Regions from separate parts of the Homo sapiens genome. Here region 2 is linked to region 1. Evidence: promoter capture Hi-C in 16 types of primary human blood cells and fetal thymus (Javierre and others, 2016). All regions are on one chromosome and are shown on one strand. Each heading gives the region's core, a stretch centred on a gene start or on the middle of the fragment in contact. The rest is flanking DNA. Distances are from core to core; before and after follow the strand shown. Region 1 holds the start of RAI1 (retinoic acid induced 1). Region 2 overlaps RAI1 (retinoic acid induced 1).

Region 1 (6,790 bases), core at 2,245-4,744:
CTTTAGCCCAGTGAAACTGATTTTGGAGTTCTGACCTCCAGAACTGTAAAGAATAAATCTGTCTAGGCTGGGCAACATGGTGAAACCCACTCTCCACAAAAAATACAAAAATTAGCTAGGCTTGGTGGTGTGGTATGTGCCTGTGGTCTCAGCTACTTGGAAGGCAGAGGCACGAGAATCACTTGAACCCGAGAGGCAGAGGTTACAGTGAGCCAAGATTGCGCCACTGCACTCAAGCCTGGGCAACAGAGCAAGACTCTGTCATAAATAAATAAATAAATAAATAAATAAATTAATTAATTAATTAATTTGTGTTATTTTAAGCCACTTGTGGAATTTGTTACAACATCCCTAGGCACCTGGCACACAGTAGGTACTCAAAAGTGGCAGTTCTGGTCAGGCGTGGTGGCTCACACTTGTAATTCCAGCACTTTGGGAGGCCAAGGCAGGAGGATCACTTGAGCCCAGAATTCAAGACCAGCCTGGGCAACATAGCAAGATGCCATCTCTATAAAAAATAAATTGGCTAGGCATAGTGGTGTATGCCTGTGGTCCCAGTTACTCAGGGGGCTGAGGTGGGAGAACTGCTTGAGTTCAGGAGTTTGAGGCTGCAGTCAGCTATGATCACACCATTGCACTCCAGCCTGGGCAACAGAGTGAGACTCTGTCTTACACACACATATACACACATTCACACTCACACACAAAAGCAGTTGTTAGTACCTTGACCGCACACCCTCTTCCATCTGCCTGCATATTCCTTCCTCCTCTCACTCTCTGGGACACCCATCCCCTTTGCAACCCAGGGCTCCCTTCCTGCCCATCCTCTGAGGTCTGCCTCAATCGCCACCTCCTCCAACCCTTCGCTGAACTGACATCCAGAAATGCTAATCCCTTGAACAAATGTGCTTCCTTGAGTGGTGCCTGAGCTATGGCTCCCAAAGAGGCCAGGCTTGTGATCCTCTTTGTACCCCCAGCCCTGCCTACAGGGTCCAGTGGCCCCAGTCATGTAAACTTGATACCAAGGAATTTTCAAAACAAAAAATACCTAATTCCAAGGCCAGAAAATTGACTCTCCTTGGGGTTCCAGCTGGTCTCCCACCCTCTCCAGGTGGAGAAGCTAGTCTTGGGGACCCTTGTGTGGGAACCAGAAATCTCCCAGCAAGACCTCCTTGTCTTGCCTCCCACTGGGGTCCCTAGAACCAGCCTTCCCTTAGGCTCCACTCAGGAGCAGGTTAAGGTAAGGCAGGGAGGGCAGGAGACCAGCTCGGGGTGGAGATTGGGAGCCCTGGATGGATGATAGGGACTGTTCCCATTAATCTAGCATCTTAAAGCAGTAATAGCACTTACTGCATGCCAGGCTGTGAGCTAAATGCTTTCCACACGTACCTCATTCAATCCTCTCAACAGACCCATGAGGTAGGTACTATTATCCCCATTCTACAGATGAGGAAACGGAGGCTCAGCAAGTTAAGTAGTTTGCCCAAAGCCACCCAGCTGGGCATAGAGGAGCCACGTTTAGAAACCAGATTTGCCAGGCGCGGTAGCTCATGTCTGAAATCTCAGCACTTTGGGAGTCCGAGGCAGGTGGATCACCTGAGGTCAGGAGTTCAAGATCAGCTTGACCAACATGGAGAAACCCTGTCTCTACTAAAAATACAAAATTAGGTGGGTGTGGCGGTGCATGTCTGTAATCCCAGCTACTCGGGAGGCTGAGGCAGGAGAATTGCTTGAATCTGGGAGGCAGAGGTTGTGGTGAGCCAAGATCGCACCATTGCACTCCAGGCAGGGCAACAGGGGCAAAACTCCGTCTCAAAAAAAAAATACATAAATAAATAAATAAAAATAAACCAGATCTGTCATCCAGAAACCGCACTTAAAACAAGCTTAAAACAACACAGTTCGCACTGGGATCCAGCTCTGTCTTGCTCTTGACATTCACCCTGGGAGACGGGTAGCCAAGTCCAGTAGGAAGGACTGTGGGGACCTGTGTTGATTCTGTCCTGTAGCTTGAGAACCTGGACAGGGGACTTCACCACTCTGCGCCTGTTTCCTCATCCACAAAATGTGATGAGCCGACCTCACAGAGGGGGCACCAGGATCTAATGAGACCATGCACAGAAGGGGCACAGCAGGCCTGGGACAGAGTGAGGGCCCCCCATCTATCACAATACCTTATTTTGCAGATGCAGGATTCACTTGTCCCAGGTCACCCACAAGCTCTGATGCCTTGACCAGCTCCCCTCTGCCCTACCAAAGGACAAATGAGGGAGGCTTCGATGGGGCTGTTAATGGGGTCATATCCCACAGACCCTAGAGCCTGGGTGGGGCTGAGAGGCTTCCCAAGCAGGTGGCAGTGAGCTCCCACCTGAGCTATGGCAAGTAGAGACCTAGGCATGAAATTGCTCCGAGGTCTGTACCTTAAGTTTCATGCAAGGACTCTCTCATTCAACATGCCTCTGTTTAAAGTCTGCCAGTGGCTACCTTCCTTGCACTAGAATTGCAAACAAATTCCTCACTGAGCTCTCTGCAGCCCTGCAGGCTCTGGCCCTCCCGATATGGCTCTGACTTCAATGTGCCCATTACTTGTCCCCTTGCTGACGGCCTCCTCACAATTCCACTTACTCACCAAGTTCTCTCCTGCCTCAGGACCTTTGCACTTGATGTTCTTTCTGCCAATGATGCTCTTCCCAGGAGGGCAGGCCCCTGTAGTCCCAGCTACTCAGAAGGCTGAGGTGGGAGGACTGTTTGAGGCCAGGAATTCAAGTTCGGCCTGGGCAACACAGCAAGACCCTGCCTCTAAAAGAACAAAATGCTCTTCCCAGACTCTACCCATGGCGGTTCCTCTTGCTATTTAGATCTTTGCACAGACAGGCCTCCTTCTCTCTCCCCCAGCCAAGGAGCCCTAGCCGTCACTTCACCTGCTAATTTTCGTCCTAGCACTTACTGCTCTAAAATTATCTTCGTCATGTATCTAAGCATTTGTTTGCTGTCTGTCTCTTCCCACCAGGATGCCAGCTCCACGACAGCAGGGACCGCATTGTCTCTGCTGATTCCTCAAGACTCAGCAAGGTGCCAGGTGCCCAGTAAATGAAGTTTACATGAAGCCAATGGAGTTTTGAAATCGAAAATGTTTCTCAAACTGCAAAGAAGTGGGCACAGGTGAGGGCTAATGGTGGGGTGAGGGTGGGGGCCTGGCCTGACGCTGGAAGCTCCTGTACGCAGGGCGCTAGTGTCCTCCCAGGCCGCACCGGGATCCCACCGCAGAGGCCCCCTCCCGCAGGCCGGCCAGCGGGCGGGGGGCGCGCAGTGGGGCGCGCGGACCGCCAGGGGGTGCTGTCGGGGCGCGCACGGCCCACCTGGCGCCCGGGGCCGCGAGCGAGCGCAGCCAGGCCGCCCGGGAACTTTTTTCCTCGCGCTCTTGCTCTCCTTCTCCCCCCGCGCGTCGCCCGCCCGCCCGTCCGCTCGTCCGCTCTTCCTGTGCGGAGGGGATCGCATTCCTCGCGGCACCCGCGGACACCAGGCAGGCCCGGCCGGGTGCGCGGCCAAGGCCCGCTCCCCGCGTCCCCGGGCGCCGCCCCCGCCCGCGGCTGGGCTCCGAGAGACGAGTGGGAGAGCGAGTGCAGCGAGGGCGAGAGGCGAGCCGAGCAGGCCGCCCTGCCCGCGGCCCTAGCGCCGGCGCGAGGAGGGGGCGCCGCGGCCCACCCTCCTTCCTGCCTGGCCGCGGGCCGGCCGGGCCGCCGCGCCCCGACCCCCATGGCCACCCAGGCCTCCGGGCCGCGAAGTCGCAGCGCCAGACCCAAGGCCCCCGAGTGAGCGCGGGCGCCGAGGTGAGCAGCGAGCGCCGGGGCGCGGGGGGCGCAGTGTATCCTGCCCCGGGGCGGGGGCGGCGCGAGGCGTCGGGATCCTAGGCCGGGTGATGAGCCGAGGCGGGTTCGGACGCCGAGCGCGCGCGCTGGGTGGAGATGTGGGGTCCGCGGGGTCCTTGCTTTGTGTGGTGTGGGGGGTGCGCGAGGTCACCGGATGGACGTCTGGGGAGCTGCAGGGTGGGGGCGCCCTGCGCCGCGGCTGAGGGTCTTCTGGGGGATGTGCGGCCAGCTGAGGTCGGGTGGGGGCATGGGGGCGCGAGGGGCGAGTGTGGCAAGGGATCTGCTTGCGCCGAGGCGCGGAGTCTTTGCGGAGCGTGGGGTGGGGACGTGGGGTGCATTCGCGGGGCGCCGGGGGCGGAGGTGAGCTTTGTGAGTGCGTCCGAGGTGGGGGACGGGGAGCTGACTTCCCCATGCGTGACCCGGGCCCGGCGTGGCCATCGCTTGGGAGTCAGGGCCGGCGAAGGCCGTGCGTGGCGAGATGGGTGCTCGGGCTCTCTGCGGTGTCCCTACCCGGGCAGCGGCCCCGGGGCCTGTGCGCAGGCCCCGAGGCCGGGCAGGAAGCGGCCCCCGCGACCTGGGGAGCTCTGTAGCGGCCAGGCCCGGGAGGCACGGGCCCTTCGGGGATGACGTCACGGGCGGGGGCCCCGGACACGCGAGCCTTGCGCCCCACAGACGGCGGCGCAGCCCGCCGCCCTTTTCGAGGCCGGCCCCCCCTCTCACGCGCCTTGAAGGCAGGGAACCCGGGAGGAGGACATGGGGGCCGAGTGCGGCGGGGACAAGGGGTGGCAGGACGCGAGGGTGACATTTGGAGCCTGGTCGCGCCAGGGGCCTCCGTGGTGGGGCGGAGGGGAAGCGAAACACCAGCCAGGCCCTAGGCCGTCGCGGCCCCAGCTTCCTGGGGCGCCCGTTTTCCCGGCTAGCAGTTTTCTTTCTTGGGGCTCTTGGTCGTTATCCAGTCCACGCAGGGGCCGGAGTGCGGGCTGCCGCGGTGCTCTCCTGCGCGGAGCCCGGGCTGGCGGGGGCGCGGCGGGCCTCGGGCTCTGAATGGATGGGAGCGAGTGTAACAATGCGCCGGTGGGGGCTGGGGGAGGGGAGGCCGCGCGCCTGAATGGCGGAGCCGGCCGGGCGCTGCTCCGCGCGCCGCACACTCTCCCGCGCCGCCTTCCCCGCGGTTTCGGCGGGCCCGGATTCAGGGACCCACTCGGGATCTGCACGGTTCCTCCCACCAATACTGTCCCCCGCCCCCCTTTTATGTCTTTCCAATGCAGTAGTGTGTTGAGAATTCAAGGGCATTACATCTGGTTGCAATCCAGTTTCATGCCGCTGCCGGGCTGTTAAGACCTCGCGCTGACGTCAGAGCAGGGGAATTACTTCTTTTTATTTTATCTTTTTTTAGTTGTCTGCTGCCCTGGGAGGAGAGGCGGGGGTGGGTTAGGCTAGCTCTGATGTGGAGGCGCCAGCGTGATGGGAGCCCCGAGCTGGGGGCTCTGCTTCTCTTCCTGCCCCTGCCCCCCTCCATTCTCCATACAGTCCTCGCTCTGCTCAGGGTCAGGCCCACCCCAGGTGGGGGGCAGCCCTCGCTGCAGACTGAATGGTGGCCCCTCCCTGCTGACCACACAGCTGGGTTTTCAGAGGCTTTCCTGGGACGTGGCCCTCGGGATCTAGAAACTGGAAAGGAATCTTCTAGTTTCCCACCCCTCCCCCTCTTGACAGGCAAGCCGGTATATTCGGGGCCCAGGAGCAAGGAAAAGTGGCCTTTTGCGTGACACAGAAGTGGACACATCATTCTGATCTCAGGGCAGGCTCAGCCCCATAACTCTGGCAAAAGCTCTCACAAGCAAAAGCCTTGGAGAGGAGGAGAATGTATCAAGGTGAGATCCAGGCCCCAGAAGCCAACTGTGGAGTGGGCAAAATAGGACCTTTCCCACCAGCCTAGCATCCCTCTGGCTTCTGTGGAGATAAAGGGAACTCAGGGGTACTGGAGCTGCCTTTCTCTTCCACTAGACTGTGGGGCTCTCATAGGCAGGGACCCTGTCTTACTCCTCTTTGTTTTATTTTTGAGACAGGGTCTTGCTGTGTGGCCCAGGCTGGAGTGCCTTGGCACAAACACAGCTCACTTCAGCCTCAACCTCCAGGGCTCAAGCGATCCTCCAGCATCAGTCTCCTGAGTAGCTGGGATCACAGGCGCCCGACACCACACGTAGCTAATTTTAAATTTTTTTTTTTTTCTAGAGACAGGGGTCTTGCCATGGCTGGTCTTGAAGTCCTGGGCTCAAGCGATCCTCCCTCTTTGGCCTCCCAAAGTGCTGGGATTACAGGAGTGAGTCACTGCACCCAGCCTTACTCCTCTTTAGACTCCCAAGCCTAGACCAATTGCTTTCAAATTCTTGCCCGTGACCTATAGTAAGAAATACATCGTAGGTAACTACACAGGTCACACTGTATATAGCTGAAACAAAAGTTTACTGAAATAACTCCCTTACTGTGTCTGCTGGTCTGTAATCCTTTTTGTTCTTGTGTATTTGTTTTTTTTTTAATTACTGATTGCTACCCACGAAATTAATTTTGCAATCCACTGATGGGTCATACCCAGAATTTGAAAAAAACAAGCCTAGGAAATGAATTTGCCATCTATTCATGCAACAAATGTTAATTGCAACCCTAATAATTCCTCTCATGTTAAACTACTCAAGTAACACTTGGATACTTGGGTGAAAAATGCAAATAAGCCAGAAATATATGTAGTAAAAGTAAAAGTTCCCTTGGCACCCTCCCTGCAGGTAACCCCAGTTAATAGTTTGAACGTATCCTTCCAGACTTTTTGTTACTCACTTAATGCATATATATATATATATATATATATATATATATATATGTATGTATGTATGTATATTACATATACCAATCCATGCATAGTTTTC
Region 2 (6,083 bases), core at 2,485-4,984, 110 kb after region 1:
GGGCCAGCATGGTTCTGGGTAAATCCCAAACCCTCTGGGACTCGGCCAATGGCCAGCCCCTCCATGCACTTCCTCCAAAACCTGGGGCATTCCTCTTTCTTCCATCCCTCTTTGAGGGGTCTTCTGGTTGGCCAGGCCAGCGAGTCAGCTGGAGGAACCTTTACCCTGGATGCTGGGCTGTCAGATGCTCTGCTCTGAGAGGCTCCCGCAACCCACCCTGGGTCCTTTCCTGACCCAGGATTCTGCTCTGCAGGCAGGGGCAGGTTAGACCCCTGCCTGAGCCCCATCCCCTAAAATCATAACCAGATGGGCTCTTGAGTGTTGCCTGCCCCAGCCCTCACCTGCTGAGGTGGGGAGGAACTGGCCAGGAGGGGACAGGGCTGTGTCGCCCCATGTGGGTGGGGCTGGGCTGTGCCCTTCCGTGGCCGTGGCCCTGGGACTGCATCTCTACTCCCATTAGTATGCACTCCCTCACTCTGGGCCACGTAATCTGTTTATGCACGTATGATATCAAAAACAGGAGGCAGGTGCTGCCGTCTTGCGTTCCTGGGAGTCAGAGGAGGGGACATTTTATGTCTACAGTGGCTTGGCAGCCCCTAATCGATGTCTGCTAGAAGGAACAGACAGATTCCAGATGGCGTGGCAGTGATAGAGGAGGTGTGTGTGTGCATGCGTGTGTGTGTGTGTGCGCGCGTGTGTGTGTGAGCATACATATGCTTGTGTGCACGCATGTGCGTGGGGACAGGGGCAGACCCTCCTCAGTCCCCAGCATGGCTGGGTCATGCTTGAACACGGTCGCGAAGGGACTAAATTACAGGATCCAGCAGGCCCCAGGGGATGAGGGAGCGGGAATTGCTCTGCTAAATGCTTTTGAGCTGTCAGGAAGGGCTGGGAGTGATGGGTGGGGGACATTGGGGAGGAGCTGGCAATGGGCGGGGGGGGGGCGGGTAGCTCCCCAGTGACCTGGCGCTGGGCAGCCGGTTTTGCCTCCCGCATCAGTGGCCGTCCTTGGCAAGACTCAGCTGCAGGCGATGTGGGAGCGGGAATTACAGAGCACACCTCCCTGACACAGAAGTTGTCAATATGCGCACAGCTGGTGGGGAGGCTCAGGCGAAGGGGGGACTATTAAGAGCTGCGCGGGGGAGCAGGCAGGGTGGGGAGGTGGGTGGGAGGGTGCTTTCTGAGGCAAAAGGAAGTGGCCCGTCTGAATCGCTCATCCTCTGCCCCCTCCCTGCCCATCCTCCCCTCCCTCCTTCCCTCCCTCCCTCCCTTCCTTTTTCTTTTCACAGATAACCAGCCCGAGTCATGCAGTCTTTTCGAGAAAGGTGTGGTTTCCATGGCAAACAACAGAACTACCAGCAGACCTCGCAGGAAACATCACGCCTAGAGAATTACAGGCAGCCGAGTCAGGCCGGGCTAAGCTGCGACCGGCAGCGGCTGCTCGCCAAGGACTATTATAACCCGCAGCCTTACCCGAGCTATGAGGGTGGCGCTGGCACGCCCTCTGGCACTGCAGCCGCGGTGGCCGCCGACAAGTACCACCGAGGCAGCAAGGCCCTGCCCACACAGCAAGGCCTGCAGGGGAGGCCGGCTTTCCCTGGCTACGGCGTCCAGGACAGCAGCCCCTACCCAGGCCGCTATGCTGGTGAGGAGAGCCTTCAGGCTTGGGGGGCCCCACAGCCACCACCCCCACAGCCGCAGCCACTACCTGCAGGGGTGGCCAAGTATGATGAGAACTTGATGAAAAAGACAGCAGTGCCCCCCAGCAGGCAGTATGCAGAGCAGGGCGCCCAGGTGCCCTTTCGGACTCACTCCCTGCACGTCCAGCAGCCACCGCCGCCCCAGCAGCCCCTGGCATACCCCAAGCTCCAAAGGCAGAAGCTGCAGAACGACATTGCCTCCCCTCTGCCCTTCCCCCAGGGTACCCACTTTCCTCAGCATTCCCAGTCCTTCCCCACCTCCTCCACCTACTCCTCCTCTGTCCAGGGTGGTGGGCAGGGGGCCCACTCCTATAAGAGTTGCACAGCACCGACTGCCCAGCCCCATGACAGGCCGCTGACTGCCAGCTCCAGCCTGGCCCCGGGGCAGCGGGTCCAGAATCTTCATGCCTACCAGTCGGGCCGCCTCAGCTATGACCAGCAGCAGCAGCAGCAGCAGCAGCAGCAGCAGCAGCAGCAAGCCCTTCAGAGCCGGCACCATGCCCAGGAAACCCTCCATTACCAAAACCTCGCCAAGTATCAGCACTACGGGCAGCAAGGCCAGGGCTACTGCCAGCCGGACGCAGCCGTCCGGACCCCAGAGCAGTACTACCAGACCTTCAGCCCCAGCTCCAGCCACTCACCCGCCCGCTCCGTGGGCCGCTCACCTTCCTACAGTTCCACACCGTCGCCGCTGATGCCAAACCTGGAGAACTTTCCCTACAGCCAGCAGCCGCTCAGCACCGGGGCCTTCCCCGCAGGGATCACTGACCACAGCCACTTCATGCCCCTGCTCAATCCCTCCCCAACGGATGCCACCAGCTCTGTGGACACCCAGGCTGGCAACTGCAAGCCCCTTCAGAAGGACAAGCTCCCTGAGAACCTGCTGTCGGATCTCAGCCTGCAGAGCCTCACGGCGCTGACCTCACAGGTGGAGAACATCTCCAACACCGTCCAGCAGCTGCTGCTCTCCAAGGCTGCTGTGCCGCAGAAGAAAGGTGTCAAGAACCTCGTGTCCAGGACCCCAGAGCAGCATAAAAGCCAGCACTGCAGCCCCGAAGGGAGCGGCTACTCAGCCGAGCCCGCAGGCACACCGCTGTCAGAGCCGCCGAGCAGCACGCCACAGTCCACGCATGCGGAGCCGCAGGAGGCCGACTACCTGAGCGGCTCCGAGGACCCACTGGAGCGCAGCTTCCTCTACTGCAACCAGGCCCGTGGCAGCCCTGCCAGGGTCAACAGCAACTCGAAGGCCAAGCCCGAGTCCGTGTCCACCTGTTCTGTGACCTCTCCTGACGACATGTCCACCAAATCTGACGACTCCTTCCAGAGCCTACACGGCAGTCTGCCGCTCGACAGCTTCTCCAAGTTCGTGGCGGGTGAGCGGGACTGTCCGCGGCTGCTGCTCAGCGCCCTGGCACAGGAGGACCTGGCCTCCGAGATCCTGGGGCTGCAGGAAGCCATCGGTGAGAAGGCCGACAAAGCTTGGGCTGAAGCACCCAGCCTGGTCAAGGACAGCAGCAAGCCACCCTTCTCGCTGGAGAACCACAGCGCCTGCCTGGACTCTGTGGCCAAGAGTGCGTGGCCCCGGCCTGGGGAGCCGGAGGCCCTGCCCGACTCCTTGCAGCTGGACAAGGGCGGCAATGCCAAGGACTTCAGCCCAGGGCTGTTTGAAGACCCTTCCGTGGCCTTCGCTACGCCTGACCCCAAAAAGACAACTGGTCCTCTCTCCTTTGGTACCAAGCCCACCCTTGGGGTTCCTGCTCCAGACCCCACTACAGCAGCTTTTGACTGTTTCCCGGACACAACCGCTGCCAGCTCAGCGGACAGCGCCAACCCCTTTGCCTGGCCAGAGGAAAACCTGGGGGATGCTTGTCCCAGGTGGGGATTGCACCCTGGCGAGCTTACCAAGGGCCTGGAGCAGGGTGGGAAGGCCTCAGATGGCATCAGCAAAGGGGACACCCATGAGGCTTCGGCCTGCCTGGGCTTCCAGGAGGAGGACCCCCCTGGGGAGAAGGTGGCCTCGTTGCCCGGGGACTTCAAGCAGGAGGAGGTGGGTGGGGTGAAGGAGGAGGCAGGTGGGCTGCTGCAGTGCCCCGAGGTGGCCAAGGCTGACCGGTGGCTGGAGGACAGCCGGCACTGCTGTTCCACCGCCGACTTCGGGGACCTCCCACTGCTGCCACCCACCAGCAGGAAGGAGGACCTGGAAGCTGAGGAGGAGTACTCCTCCCTATGTGAGCTCCTGGGCAGCCCCGAGCAGAGGCCTGGCATGCAGGACCCGCTGTCACCCAAGGCCCCACTCATCTGCACCAAGGAGGAGGTGGAGGAGGTGCTGGACTCCAAGGCCGGCTGGGGCTCTCCGTGCCACCTCTCAGGGGAGTCCGTCATCCTGCTGGGCCCTACAGTGGGCACCGAGTCAAAGGTCCAGAGCTGGTTTGAGTCCTCTCTGTCACACATGAAGCCAGGTGAAGAGGGGCCTGATGGGGAGCGAGCTCCAGGGGATTCCACCACCTCGGACGCCTCTCTGGCCCAGAAGCCCAACAAGCCTGCTGTGCCCGAGGCGCCCATCGCAAAGAAAGAGCCTGTGCCACGGGGCAAAAGCTTACGGAGCCGTCGGGTGCACCGGGGGCTGCCCGAGGCCGAGGACTCCCCATGCAGGGCACCAGTGCTGCCCAAAGACCTCTTGCTCCCTGAATCCTGCACAGGGCCCCCCCAGGGACAGATGGAAGGGGCTGGAGCCCCAGGCCGGGGGGCCTCGGAAGGGCTCCCCAGGATGTGTACTCGTTCTCTCACGGCCCTGAGTGAGCCCCGCACGCCCGGACCCCCAGGCCTGACCACCACCCCTGCACCCCCAGACAAACTGGGGGGCAAGCAGCGAGCCGCCTTCAAGTCGGGCAAGCGGGTGGGGAAGCCCTCACCCAAGGCTGCCTCCAGCCCCAGCAACCCGGCCGCCCTGCCTGTGGCCTCCGACAGCAGCCCGATGGGCTCCAAGACCAAGGAGACAGACTCACCCAGCACGCCTGGCAAGGACCAGCGCTCCATGATCCTTCGGTCACGCACCAAAACCCAGGAGATCTTCCACTCCAAGCGGCGGAGGCCCTCTGAGGGCCGGCTCCCCAACTGCCGTGCCACCAAGAAGCTCCTCGACAACAGCCACTTGCCCGCCACATTCAAGGTCTCCAGCAGCCCCCAGAAGGAGGGCAGGGTGAGCCAGCGGGCAAGGGTCCCCAAACCTGGTGCAGGCAGCAAGCTCTCTGACCGGCCCCTCCATGCGCTCAAAAGGAAGTCGGCCTTCATGGCGCCGGTCCCCACCAAGAAGCGGAACCTGGTCTTGCGGAGCCGCAGCAGCAGCAGCAGCAACGCCAGTGGCAATGGGGGAGATGGGAAGGAGGAGAGGCCTGAGGGTTCCCCCACCCTCTTCAAGAGGATGTCTTCTCCCAAGAAAGCCAAGCCCACCAAGGGCAATGGCGAGCCTGCCACAAAGCTCCCACCCCCGGAGACCCCCGATGCCTGCCTCAAGCTCGCCTCTCGGGCAGCCTTCCAGGGGGCCATGAAGACCAAGGTGCTGCCACCCCGGAAGGGCCGGGGCCTGAAGCTGGAAGCCATCGTGCAGAAGATCACCTCGCCCAGCCTCAAGAAGTTCGCATGTAAAGCGCCAGGGGCCTCTCCTGGTAATCCTCTGAGCCCATCCCTTTCCGACAAAGACCGTGGGCTCAAGGGTGCTGGGGGCAGCCCAGTGGGGGTGGAAGAAGGCCTGGTAAATGTGGGCACCGGGCAGAAGCTCCCAACTTCTGGGGCTGATCCGTTATGCAGAAATCCAACCAACAGATCCTTAAAAGGCAAACTCATGAACAGTAAGAAACTGTCTTCTACTGACTGTTTCAAAACCGAGGCCTTCACATCCCCGGAGGCCCTGCAGCCTGGGGGGACTGCCCTGGCGCCTAAGAAGAGGAGCCGGAAAGGCCGGGCAGGGGCCCATGGACTCTCCAAAGGCCCGCTGGAGAAGCGGCCCTATCTTGGCCCGGCTCTGCTCCTGACTCCCCGAGACAGGGCCAGTGGCACACAAGGGGCCAGTGAGGACAACTCTGGTGGAGGAGGCAAGAAGCCAAAGATGGAGGAGCTGGGCCTGGCCTCCCAGCCCCCGGAGGGCAGGCCCTGCCAGCCCCAGACAAGGGCACAGAAACAGCCAGGCCACACCAACTACAGCAGCTATTCCAAGCGGAAGCGCCTCACTCGGGGCCGGGCCAAGAACACCACCTCTTCACCCTGTAAGGGGCGTGCCAAGCGACGACGACAGCAGCAGGTGCTGCCCCTGGATCCCGCAGAGCCTGAAATCCGCCTCAAGTACATTTCCTCTTGCAAGCGGCTGAGGTCAGACAGCCGGACCCC

Evidence for each region. Contacts are between HindIII fragments. The CHiCAGO score rates a contact against its expected background, and 5 or more counts as called.
Region 2: a contact is called between a fragment that was not itself captured here and the fragment with the promoter of RAI1 in region 1, in 4 of 17 cell types (endothelial precursors, megakaryocytes, naive CD4 T cells and 1 more). The highest score is 8.3, in endothelial precursors.

The regions. Positions count from the first base shown.
Region 1 is chr17:17,677,964-17,684,753 of GRCh38, forward strand. It overlaps RAI1 (retinoic acid induced 1), which reads left to right and starts at 3,495. Exons shown (of 6, transcript NM_030665.4): 1 at 3,495-3,830. RefSeq lists silencers at 3,216-3,725, 3,756-3,895, 3,956-4,035, 4,047-4,219, 4,206-5,155 and an enhancer at 3,536-4,137. The HindIII fragment of the contact is 10,976 bases long and covers 1,885-6,790 here.
Region 2 is chr17:17,791,644-17,797,726 of GRCh38, forward strand. RAI1 (retinoic acid induced 1) reads left to right here. Exons shown (of 6, transcript NM_030665.4): 3 at 1,290-6,083. The coding sequence starts at 1,306. Among named protein-coding and RNA genes, the nearest start is that of SMCR5, 15 kb to the left of the region's middle. RefSeq lists enhancers at 1,365-2,091, 2,092-2,816. The HindIII fragment of the contact is 1,117 bases long and covers 3,177-4,293 here.